3 separate regions of the Homo sapiens genome follow, and regions 1 and 3 are each linked to region 2. The links are contacts of gene promoters, found by promoter capture Hi-C in blood cells and fetal thymus (Javierre and others, 2016). All regions are on one chromosome and are shown on one strand. Each heading gives the region's core, a stretch centred on a gene start or on the middle of the fragment in contact. The rest is flanking DNA. Distances are from core to core; before and after follow the strand shown. Region 1 overlaps SERGEF (secretion regulating guanine nucleotide exchange factor). Region 2 holds the start of KCNC1 (potassium voltage-gated channel subfamily C member 1). Region 3 overlaps SERGEF (secretion regulating guanine nucleotide exchange factor).

Region 1 (3,581 bases), core at 1,072-3,571, 170 kb after region 2:
TCGGTAACTAGAAGAACAGAAGAACACCCAGAAGAATGGAGGGATTTGGGGAAGGTAGGAGGTGTCAGGGGAGCAGCACATGTACAAAGAACATAAGTTTACTTTTTTAGTTAGGTGGAACATGGGCAGAAACGAGGAATTAGTGCCTGGTGGCCCTCAAGGACTGAGAAGCCACTTCAGAGACAAACAAACAAAAAATCATTTTGTACATGAGCGCCTGCAAGGATTAGCTGAACAAGAAGCATGCAGGACTAGAGTTGCCAACATGCTGAGCTCATGAGCTTTCTAGAAGACAAGGGACAAGGGATATCTGCCTATCTACCAGACATCACCTGCCCCAAGGAAATGACTTCTAAGCTGTCTTTCCTTCCTTACACTAACAAGGCATGTTATTACAAAAGGAGGTCCTAAACTGTTTTATCTGCAAAGAGAATCCAGAGAGTTGATGCCTTTTCCAAATTAAGAGTTGGCTTTCCTCGGAAGGATAAAATCTGCCATTAGGACTCATAATTTATTAGCTGGGCAGCTTTAGCTTGGTCATTTAAACTCTCTAGGTCTCAGGTATTTCACTTGTTAAGTACAATAACAGTATCTCATGTGCCAGAAAGGACCAGAAGATTTCAGGAGGTCTCTCAGCTCTAAGATAGATAATTCAAAATTTATTCTAAACCCTGCAGGTCACACTCTAGTCTCTCTGAACCCCTGGACTGTGACTCACTGCGGAAGCCTACATGATATGATGATGAAGAAAAACCTGGCAAAAACACAGAGTTGAGAGTGGGGGCAGAAACTCCAACTGGCAGGTCCAGTCACAAGAAGATACAGCTAGAATACTAAAGCTGGCCTGGGGACAGAAGATAATTAATCTTCAAGGCAATAAAAATATTTAATTCATTCATCTGAGAGAAATGACAAGAAAGAAGATAGATATTTCCTTTTTCCCTCCCTGTTCTGACAAGGTTACCCTAGATAGATTGTAGAATGTTTAATGAACATTTAGTATAAAAGCCTGAGATGCAAACAAGTAAATGAGGAGAGGCCTGGGCAGCAAGCAATGGAAGCTGACATTGTAGAGGCTGCAACCAGGACAGACATTTCCAGAGCAGAGCTTTGGGAAGAGAAGCTTATTTGCAATTGTTCAGGTGGCAGCAAAAGTTAAAACACGGGGAGAGATATAAAAGAAATTCCAAAGGTAAAAATCACAGGATTTGATCATTGAACAGATAAATATGGAAGGAAGGAAGAGGCACACTGAAGCTGCCTGAGCTTTCTAACCATGATCAGAACTGAGGAGTCATTAATGTAGGGAAGAGGACAGCCGTGGAGAAAAAGGGAAAGGGGAGTCTCCACTTCCGTAGGTCATCTTAAGTGACAAGGTAACAGCCATCAACTATGAACACTATAATCCCTCCTTCACCTTGGCCGTGTAGGCCTTGCAGGCATCACCACAAGTGCCAGATCAGTTAGCCCACAACTGCTCTGTGTGCCTAGAACAGAGGAGTAGGTATCTAGGGCCAGGGGAGTATATGCAGGGAAGTGTTCAGGGATTGGGATAGTAGCAAAGCCGAGGGAAGAGGAGAAAATGCAGCCCACTGCTTTAGACCCTGTGTTGATTTTGTATCAGAGGGCTAATGAGGGCTCCAAGAAACAGAAAAGCATTTCCAAGGCTGGAAGTAGGAACATTGGCCACAGCCTGAACCAGTGAAGCAGAAGTGAAGTCCTCAAGGAAAAGAGTGGGGGTTCTCCAAGGTACCCTTTGCAGCAGCTAAAAGTGAATGGTTGAGGACTAAAGTCTACTCTTAAGATAAATGTCCATGACCAAAGAGGCTGGGATCCTGGAAAGACTACCCAGCCAGCCTCCACCATGCCAGACTGAGCCCCGCTGGGGCATTCGACTATAGCCACAGGCCCTGCCTTTCAATTCCTTTAATGTAACTGTTCTAGGAAGAGAGGTGACTCTTGATAAACTTCAAATTATAATCTCTCTCCAGCTTTACTCTGTCTATTCAAACCATTTCTATGAACTGTTAGGTGACTCTAGTGACAAGTCCTAGTTTAAGAATAAATGGAAATTTATATGACTATGTCAGCCTCTGAGTAGAAACCTCCCTAGGTATCAAGAAGCATTTCTTCTTTCCTTCTCCCTCTTTCTTTATTTTAGTAAATACCAACTAGATGCAAGGCCTACCAGTCTGCAAACAGATATAACCTTCCAAGACCAAGGAAATTATTTAGAGGCATTTAAAACCACCTTCTCTGACCCAAAACACAATGCAATGCAGTGCAAGACAGAAACTTCTGCTTGAGAACTGGATCAGTCCTGGATGCCTGATTCCCTGGGTCATCAAAGCCTAATTCTCACAGGCAGAAGTTTCACCTATCCTAATGGGTTCATCTGTTTTTCCAACTTTGCTCAACCCAGAGACTACTTGACATCTGAAATATCAACTGTCTTCCAAAACATGTTGGTCTTGAAATTGGCCCTGAAAGATCCTACACAAATACTTCATTTGATTAGCAAACTTTAGTACATCTATAAGAATATGGGTACACATTTCTGCATTTCAGTTGTAACATCAATACTTGGTCCAAAGACAACATTCCTCATACTGGAGACTATCCAAAATATCCAGGAAAATTTATTAGGGAGATTGCTTTTATTCCACCCTCTGTTTCTCTTCAAAAGCGAAAGAGATGCTGTACAGAATTTAAATGTTCTAACAAACATTGTCTTTAAAGCAAATTTCAATAAATTGAAGTGTAATTTATTGAAACAATTTTTAGTCACAATGAGCCCAGTTTTCTCACAGAATAGCATAAAAGTGCAATGGCCTGGGTTCTTGACACACTCAGCTTTTCTGACTGTGAGAATCTGAGCCCTTGCTCTGAGGCAAGACCCATTCCTACCAAGCATTCTTGGGGAGGCACCAGCCTTGCTGAACAACCAGCACTGGCTGAACCAGGCTTAGTCTGAGGAGGAAGGATGCAGTTATCTGGCAGAGATTGGAGTGACCTTGGAATCCAAAGTCAGCAGGACCCAGGGCTCCTTCTCTAATGGGTAATTTATAAGTGGAGACCATTGGGTCTCTCAGAGCTCACATGACAGGAGTCAGAGGTGACAGGAGTGAAACCCAGAAAGAAGAAGTGAATGTTTTCAGAGACCCATTAGAAATGAGGACAAGTGCACAAATGGGAACTGTGTGGTTGTAACAGCACTAGACTGGCCTATGCTCTGGTCCTTTCCTCTCTGTCCCTTAGTCTGCCCATCTCTAAAATAAGGAGCTTGAAAAATAAATAAATAAATAAATAAAATAAGGAGCTTGGATGAGCAGATCCTTAGGGTCTCAGTCAGCCTCGAAATTCTGAAATAGATTCCAACCCCAGATTGCTGAGGAGGTCTCCAGCCTTAACAAGGCAGTCCTGAGACCAGCATGGGAGGCCACTAGCATCTTCCCTTCATTTCTTCCTGTCTTGACCCAATTCATCACTCAAAACCTAGTTTGAATGCCACTGCCTTCAAGAAGCTTCCCCTGACCCTTCTGGCATAACCACTCATTCCTTCTCTAGGAGCTCCTAATTTG
Region 2 (3,806 bases), core at 1,307-3,806:
TTAGGGTGTAATGGGCTTTAGGGTGCAATGAATACCCTTTCACATTCCTTCTGCCTCCAACCCTGGCCTACCTCCCTCTTTCTAACACATCGTCCAGAGCCCCTAATCACCCAACCTTCTGCCTACCAGGAGCCCCTTGTTTCTCTCTGTCTCTCTGTGCCCCCTCCCCAACTGCCTGGGTCACACTGCAGCCCCCTATTAGGACTCGCCATGGCGTAGTGATGGGGCCCTGCACTGATTCCCTAAAAAACCCTGGGTAAGTCCCTCCTCCTGACTTGGTCTCCATTAGGTGTTCCAGACTCCCACAGTCTCTGCCACTTGGGTTCTAGGATCCCAGCCTCTCTCCTAGCCTTTCTCAAATCATCTGGACCTTAGTGAGGATCTACTGTATTCTGGGCACTCTGGAGGGAAGCAAACAAGAAGCCCTGGAGGAGCTGATGGTCCTTTTATGGAGATCAGATGAGCTATGGAGAAGATCAGGAGCCATACTCTGATCCCGTGTGGTTCTGCAGGTGAAGAGAGAGGTGAAGTCCTGGAACCCTATGGCTAGTAGAATCCCAGAAGATTCTTGGGTGAGAAGAGGGGCTGGACATCTGGGTAGAAAGAAAGGAAGGTTTGGAGAGGCTGCTTTCTTGTCTCTCCCCATCTTGATTTCTCCCAGCTGTGTGTGTGTGTGTGTGTGTGTGTGTGTGTGTGTGTGTGTGTGTGTGTATGTGTCTGCCTCTGTGTCCACCTTTTTCTCTTCCTTCTGGATTCTCCATTTCTATTTCATCTTCTACCAATGTTGGGACAGAATTTCCTGAGAACCCATGTCCCGGGGATCTGAATATGGGCCAGGATGGGCCACACCAGGCCGGGCCACACCAGGCCAGGCTTCCTTGTGGTTAGGAGATGGGGACTCACACTGGTCAGGGTGAAAGGGACACTCAAAATCACTCTCATCCCTGCATTACTCTGAGATTGAAGGGGAAACAGCTCCTATTTAGAGGAATCACACAGATCAATATCTGGAGGGAGGAGGTGCCATGCAGGCCCCAAAATCCAACCCTCTCTTTGTCTCTGCCCAACTCTGCCCATTTCTGACTTAATTTAGCCTCTCTGTCTCTCCCCTTGTCCTATTCCCATCTGTCAATCCTTGCCCTGCCCCTCTCCACCCCTTCAAGCCTTTTACCCACCACACACAGATTTTCCTGTGGCTAGATTGGGATTCCCCTGGCCAAGTAAGGAGAGCGATGTCTGTGGCACAGCTTTGTCCCCAGGCTCACAACGGCATCTGTGGGTCAGGGTAGAGGGACAGCTGTCTGCACAGTTAGAAAGTGCCAGCAGTAATAAAAGCCTCATATCTTCTTAATTAAATCGCCCTTTGCCCAGGCATCCTGTGTTCGATTGGGTTGAGCTGGGATCAATAAGCCTCTTTCCCACCCCAGCCACCCCTGGAGACGGGCCTGACCTCCCCAGTCCTGCCTAGGCCCACCTGGCCACCTCCCCAGAAGGCTGGGAGCTTCTCAAGGCCAGAGGCTGGGTCAGATTCATCTCTTGTGTCCTTGTGCCTGGGACGGATCCTGAAACAAGTAAGGAGTAAAGGAGTGATTGCTTTACTGAGTAAACCAAGGCACTAGCAGCAGGCATGGGCCAGGAAGGCTTTGAGGTTCAAACTGGAACTCCCACCCCCAGGACCAACTGTGAAGATGGAGGAATCACAGCAAGCAGCAGCTCCCACCCAGCTCCCAGACATAACACCAGCTTATCACCCAGGGCAGTTGAAGCCCTAGGAAGTGCGGGGTGGGGGTGTCAGTGCTCAGGGAAACTACGAGCAGTTGCTGCTTCTGACCTCTGAGGGCAGAAGGTCCTTTTCATAAGGGGTCTCCACCTAGGGATCCAGGGTTAGTGTGGGAGAGTCCGTGAGCTTGGATGGATGTGGCACTCATGGGAGACTCCCTCTGTCTGAAGCTATAAAGGGCCCAGGGTCAGTAAGGAGTCCAAAGGGGTTAATAGGGGTCCAGGATTGATTGTTAGTGGAGGGCGTAGAGGATAACGTGGTGTGTGTGTGTGTGTGTGTGTGTTGGGGTTCATGCAAGACATTACCCATGGAAGGAACATGGGGCCTCCAGGTTCCGCGAGAAGGGTCGGTATTAAAGGATTCCTTGGAGCGGTCAGCACTGGTCCGGGCCAGGGTGTCTCTGATGACAAAACTCCGGGAGAGCTTTGTCTCACCAGGGATCAGATGGTCCCTGGTTTGGAAGGCAAGGGGAGGGTGCCAACGCCCTTCTCACCTCAGTCTGACCCGGGGGCGCGGGCCCAGACGTCTCTCGGAGCCCCCGCCCCTGGAGTGGCGTTCCCCGAGGGCGGACCGTGGGCGGGTCCCCCGGGAGCAGCAGGAGCCGCGCGGGGCGGGCGCCCCCAGCGCCGAGGTTGAGGGAGGCCGGGCTCGGTGCGGGGCTGGGAGGGGGGCGCGGAATCAGGGCTTTTTAGGACCCAGCGCGGCGCCTTCCTCCGGGGGCGAGTGCGGCTGCGCGCGCCGTGTGCCCGTGTCCGGAGAGCGGCGGGCTGGACGCGGACCGCGCGAACGAGCAGGCGACGGGCGAGCAGCAAGCGGAGCAGCAGCCCGGGCGGCAGCAGCGTCGCGGCGGCGGCGGCAGCGGCCGCTCCGCGCCTCGCCTCACCGGCCTCGCTGGCCTCACCTCGCCGCGCCCGGACCCGCCACCCCCGCCTCCCCGCCCGACCTCCGCAGCCCCCGTCTCGGCCGGCAGCGCCCACCGCCTGCCCGAAGCGAGGAGCGGAGTGCGGGGCGCAGAGGCACCGGAGCCAGTGCCCGCCGGCCCCGCAAATCAAACCCAGCCAGGAGAACCCCCGCCTGGCCCCGTGCAGCTCCGCGACCGCCGGGAGCTGTCCCTTCAGCACCGCCGCGGGAGCCCAAGTCCGAGCGCAGCCCAGCGGAACCCCAGCTCGAGCCCGGGCTCACGGAGAGCAGCGCTCGGCGTTAGCCGCACGAGCAACACCCCGGGTGCCCCTGCCCAGGGGGCCCGCCATCTCCTCCAGGAGGCGGGGAGAAGGAACGAGGAGGGCGGGCGGGCAGGCGGGCCCGCCGCCGGGGGGAGCAGGCAGCCAAGCAAGGAGAGAGGGAGGGGGCCGGAGCCCGCCCTGCGTCCCGAGCTGCAGCCCGGCCACGCAGGGAGGAAGGCAGGCGGCATCCATCTCCCCCGCGCCGAGAGCGCGCCGCGGCGACCACCTCACAGAGGAGCGCGAATTTCCCGGCCCTGTCTCCTCCCCTCCCCCTCCTGGGGGCTGGCCTCTAGTCCGGCCCCGGGAGCGGCTGACCTTTCCCCCAAAAGCTTTGTGCCGATTTCTCCATTTTCCCGCGGAGATGGGGACGGGAGCCCGGCCCCCCAACCCATTTTCCCCACCTCCCGGGGCTCGCTGCTGAGCCCGCCCCCCTCCCTCTTTCCCCCTCACTCCCTCCCTCCCTCCCTTTCTCCCTCCCTTTCTCCCTCCCTTCTTTCCTCCTCTGCCTCCTCCGCTGCCGGACCAGCTCCCTCCCACATCTGGCTCCTAGAGACCCCTGGGATCCCGCGCACATTCCCCTGGACCGGCACCCGACAAAGCGCCCGGAGAGGCTTGGCTCGCTCGTTGGGGTGGCCAGAGCCGCAGGCCTCTGTTCCCCCCGACGGCTGGGGGGAGGGGGGAAGAGGGCGCGCGCCCCCCTCCCCGGCGCCAACTCCCCCTGGCGGCCGCTCCCATGGGTGTCGCTGGGCCGCGCCATGCCTAAGGGGGCGCCGCGATGGGCCAAGGGGACGAGAGCGAGCGCA
Region 3 (3,521 bases), core at 41-2,540, 210 kb after region 2:
TCCTCCTGCCTCAGCTTCCCGAGTAGCTGAGACCACGGGGACACGCCACCATGACCGGCTTGATGATCAGTCTTACGGCCCCTTTCTAGTGTTCCTTCAGTCTTACACTGGAGAAAGTAAGTGCAAAGGCTGAGATATGAACCACCGCCCAAGGTCAGACCACCCACTGCTCAAGGCAGGCTCCGAGTCACTGTACTTCTGCTGAATTGTGGCCAAAAGCATTACAAATAAGTTTTCTGTTTCCTCACAATTTGGTTTCTCCACCAATATTTATTATAAACATTTTTAAACACACAGAAAAGCTTAAACATACAGAAAAGCTTAAACATACAGAAAAGCTTAAATAATTGTACAATGAACACTCATATTCCTACTACCTAGATTCTATAGTTAACATTTTTCTGTATTTGCTTTAATCACAAATCTAGCCATCCCTCTCTCTATTCACCAATCTTTTTAAATGTATTTTAAAATAAGTTGTAGATACAAGTGTCCTTCACATATGCTGATGAGTCTTTCCTCCAATTTTTAAAATTGTGGCAAATATACATAACATAAAATTTACCATCTTAACCATTTTTAAGTGTACAGTTCAGTGGTGTGAAGTATATTCGCATTGTTCTACAACCATCACCACCATCCATCTCCAGAACTCTTTTCATCTTGCAAAACTAAAACTCTGTACCCATCCCAGGATCATACAGTATCTGTCTTTTTGTGACTAGCTTATTTTGCTTATCTTAAGGTCCTCAAGGTTCATCTATGTTGTAGTATATGTCAGGATTCCCTTCCTTTTTAAGACGGAATGATATTCCATTGCATGTATATATCACATTTTGTTTATCGTCTATCCTTTGATGGACACTTGGGTTGCTTCCACTTTCTGGGTATTGTGAATAGTGGTGCTATGTACATGGGTATGCATATATATCTTCACGATTCTGCTTTCAACTCTTTTGGATATATATCCAGAAGTGGAATTACTGGATCATATGGTAATTCTATTTTTAATGCTCTGAGGAACTGTCATGCTGTTTTCCACAGCAGCTGCACTATTTTACGTTCCCACCAATAGTGCACAAGGGTTCCAATTTCTCTACATTCTGGCCATCACTTCTTATTTTCTGTTTGGTATAGTAGCCCTTCTAATAGGTGTTGGGTGGTATCTCATTGTGGTTTTGATTTGTACTTCTCTAATGATTAGGGATGTTGAGCAACTTTTCACATAATCTTGGTCATTTGTATATTATCTTTAGAGAAATGTCCATTCAAGTCCTTTGCCCTTTTTTAAAATTGGGCTGTTTGGTTTTTGTTGTTGCTGAGACCTTGTAGATTTATAGCAAATTTGAAGTCGGGTTAGGTGGATCTTGCAACTTCATTCTTCTTTTCCAAGATTACTTTGGATAGTCACAGCCTTTTATGTTTCCATATAAATGTCAGAATCAGCTTATCAACTTCAACCCCCAAAAAAGTCTCTTGAGATTTTGATTGGGGTTGCTTTAAATCTACAAGTCAACTTGGGAAGACCTGACAAGTTAACAACATTGAGTTTTCCAATCTGTGAGTGTGATATCTCTCTCCAATTAATTGGGTCTTTAACTTCTCCCAGCAGTGTTTTGTAGTTTTTATGTACAAGTCTTGCACGTTTTTGTTAAGTTTATACCTAAATATTTTGTACTTTTTGATATAACTGTAAAATTATAATCGTAAAAAAACTGCTTTTTAAAAATTTTCCAATTCTTTGATGCTGCTATATAAAAAAAAAGTTGATTTTTGAACGTTGATTTTGTACCTTGCTAAATTGCCATTTTGGTTCTAATAGTTATTTTATAGATTTGTTAGATTTTATAATTCAACAATCATATCATCTGTGAATAGAAACAGATTTACCTCTTCTTTTCTGATTTTAAGCCTTTTATTGCTTTTTCTTGCTTTATGGCACTGGCTAGAACCTCCATCCAGTATAATAGTGAATAAAAATGGTGAGAGGACATACTTGCCTCATTCTGATCTAAGAAGGAATACATTAAATTTTTCACCATCAATTATCATGTTAGTGCTTTATAAGTGCCCCTTATTAAACTGCAGAAATTCCCTTCCATTTCTAATTTGCTAAGTTTTTATCACAAATAAATGTTAAATTTTGTCAATGATTTTTCCACAACTGTTGAAGTTATTATTATGGTTTTTCTCCTTTATTTTGTTAATACATGATGAATTAAATTGATTTTCAAGTGAAAAAGCAAGCTTTCATTCCTGAGATAACATAGTTTGGTCATGATATATTATCCTTTTTAAATATTAATGGATTTGATTTGCTAATATTTTGTTGCAGATTTTTGTGTTTATGTTCATAAGGGATACTAATCAATAATTTTCTTTTTTGTAATGTCTTTGGTATCAGAATTATGCTGACTTCATAAATTTGGAAGTGTCCCCTCCTTTATTTTCTGAGTTTGTGTAAAAATAGTACTATTTCCTTACTTAAATATCTGATAAAGTTTATTAGAGAAACCACCTAGGCCTAAAGAGTTCTTTGTGGAAAAGTTTTTGATAATAAATTGATTTCTTTACTAGACATACAGATATTCTGATTTTCTATTTCAATTTCCTCTTGTGTTTTTGTACACTGTAGTTTTTCAAAAATTAATCCATTTTATCTAAGTTGCTGAATTTATAGGCATAAAGTTATTTGTAATATTTCCTTAGTCTCCTTTAATGTCTACATAATCTGTAGTGACATACCTACTTTCATTTCTAATATTTGCATTTTGTGACCTTGTTTTTCCTGATAGTCCAGGTAGGGCTTTATCAATTCTGTTGATATTTTCAAAGAATTGCTTTTGAACTTTTATTTTTCTCTCCTTTCTATTTCATTAACTTCTGTTCTTTCCTTTATTATTTTCTTCTTTCTATTTACTTCAGGTTTATTTTTACTCTTTTTCCAACTTCTAAAGGTAGAACCTTAAGCAGTTGAATTTAGTCCTTTTTCTTTTCTAATATATTCATTTAAAGATATAAATTTCCCTCAAAGTACTGCTTTAGCTGCATCCCACAAACACTGATGTGCTCTACTTTCATTATTGTTCGAAGTTTTTCAAATCTTTTTATTTTGAAGTAAATTCAAACCTAGATAAAAGTTGAAAGAACCACACAAAGAACTCCTGTTTACAATTAACTCATATTCCCAAATCTCAACGTTTCACTAGCTTTGCTCGCTATATCCCCTTCCCTCTATTTGTTTTTTGGTTTATTTGTTTGTTTTTTGAGACAGAGTCTGGCTCTGTTGCCCAGGCTAGAGTGCAGTGGTGCGATCTCAGCTCACTGCAACCTCCACCTCCCAGGTTCAAGCGGTTCTCCTGCCTCAGCCTTCCAAGTAGCTGAGACTACAGGCACGTGCCACCATGCCCAGCTAATTTTTTATATTTTTAGTAGAGACGGGGTTTCGTCGTGTTAGCCAGGATGGTCTCCATCTCCTGACCTCATGATCCGCCCGCCTCGGCCTCCCAAAGTGCTGGGAT

Evidence for each region. Contacts are between HindIII fragments. The CHiCAGO score rates a contact against its expected background, and 5 or more counts as called.
Region 1: a contact is called between a fragment that was not itself captured here and the fragment with the promoter of KCNC1 in region 2, in 1 of 17 cell types (fetal thymus). The highest score is 9.4, in fetal thymus.
Region 3: a fragment that was not itself captured here is called in contact with the fragment with the promoter of KCNC1 in region 2 in 2 of 17 cell types (megakaryocytes and M2 macrophages); the score reaches 6.4 in megakaryocytes.

What each region holds. Positions count from the first base shown.
Region 1 is chr11:17,902,537-17,906,117 of GRCh38, forward strand. The region is part of intron 9 of SERGEF (secretion regulating guanine nucleotide exchange factor); the gene reads right to left. Among named protein-coding and RNA genes, the nearest start is that of SERGEF, 110 kb to the right of the region's middle. The HindIII fragment of the contact is 2,401 bases long and covers 1,122-3,522 here.
Region 2 is chr11:17,732,225-17,736,030 of GRCh38, forward strand. It overlaps KCNC1 (potassium voltage-gated channel subfamily C member 1), which reads left to right and starts at 2,557. Exons shown (of 4, transcript NM_001112741.2): 1 at 2,557-3,806. The coding sequence starts at 3,779. RefSeq lists a silencer at 2,397-2,496. The HindIII fragment of the contact is 3,804 bases long and covers 1-3,330 here.
Region 3 is chr11:17,940,679-17,944,199 of GRCh38, forward strand. The region is part of intron 9 of SERGEF (secretion regulating guanine nucleotide exchange factor); the gene reads right to left. Among named protein-coding and RNA genes, the nearest start is that of SERGEF, 71 kb to the right of the region's middle. The HindIII fragment of the contact is 1,909 bases long and covers 337-2,245 here.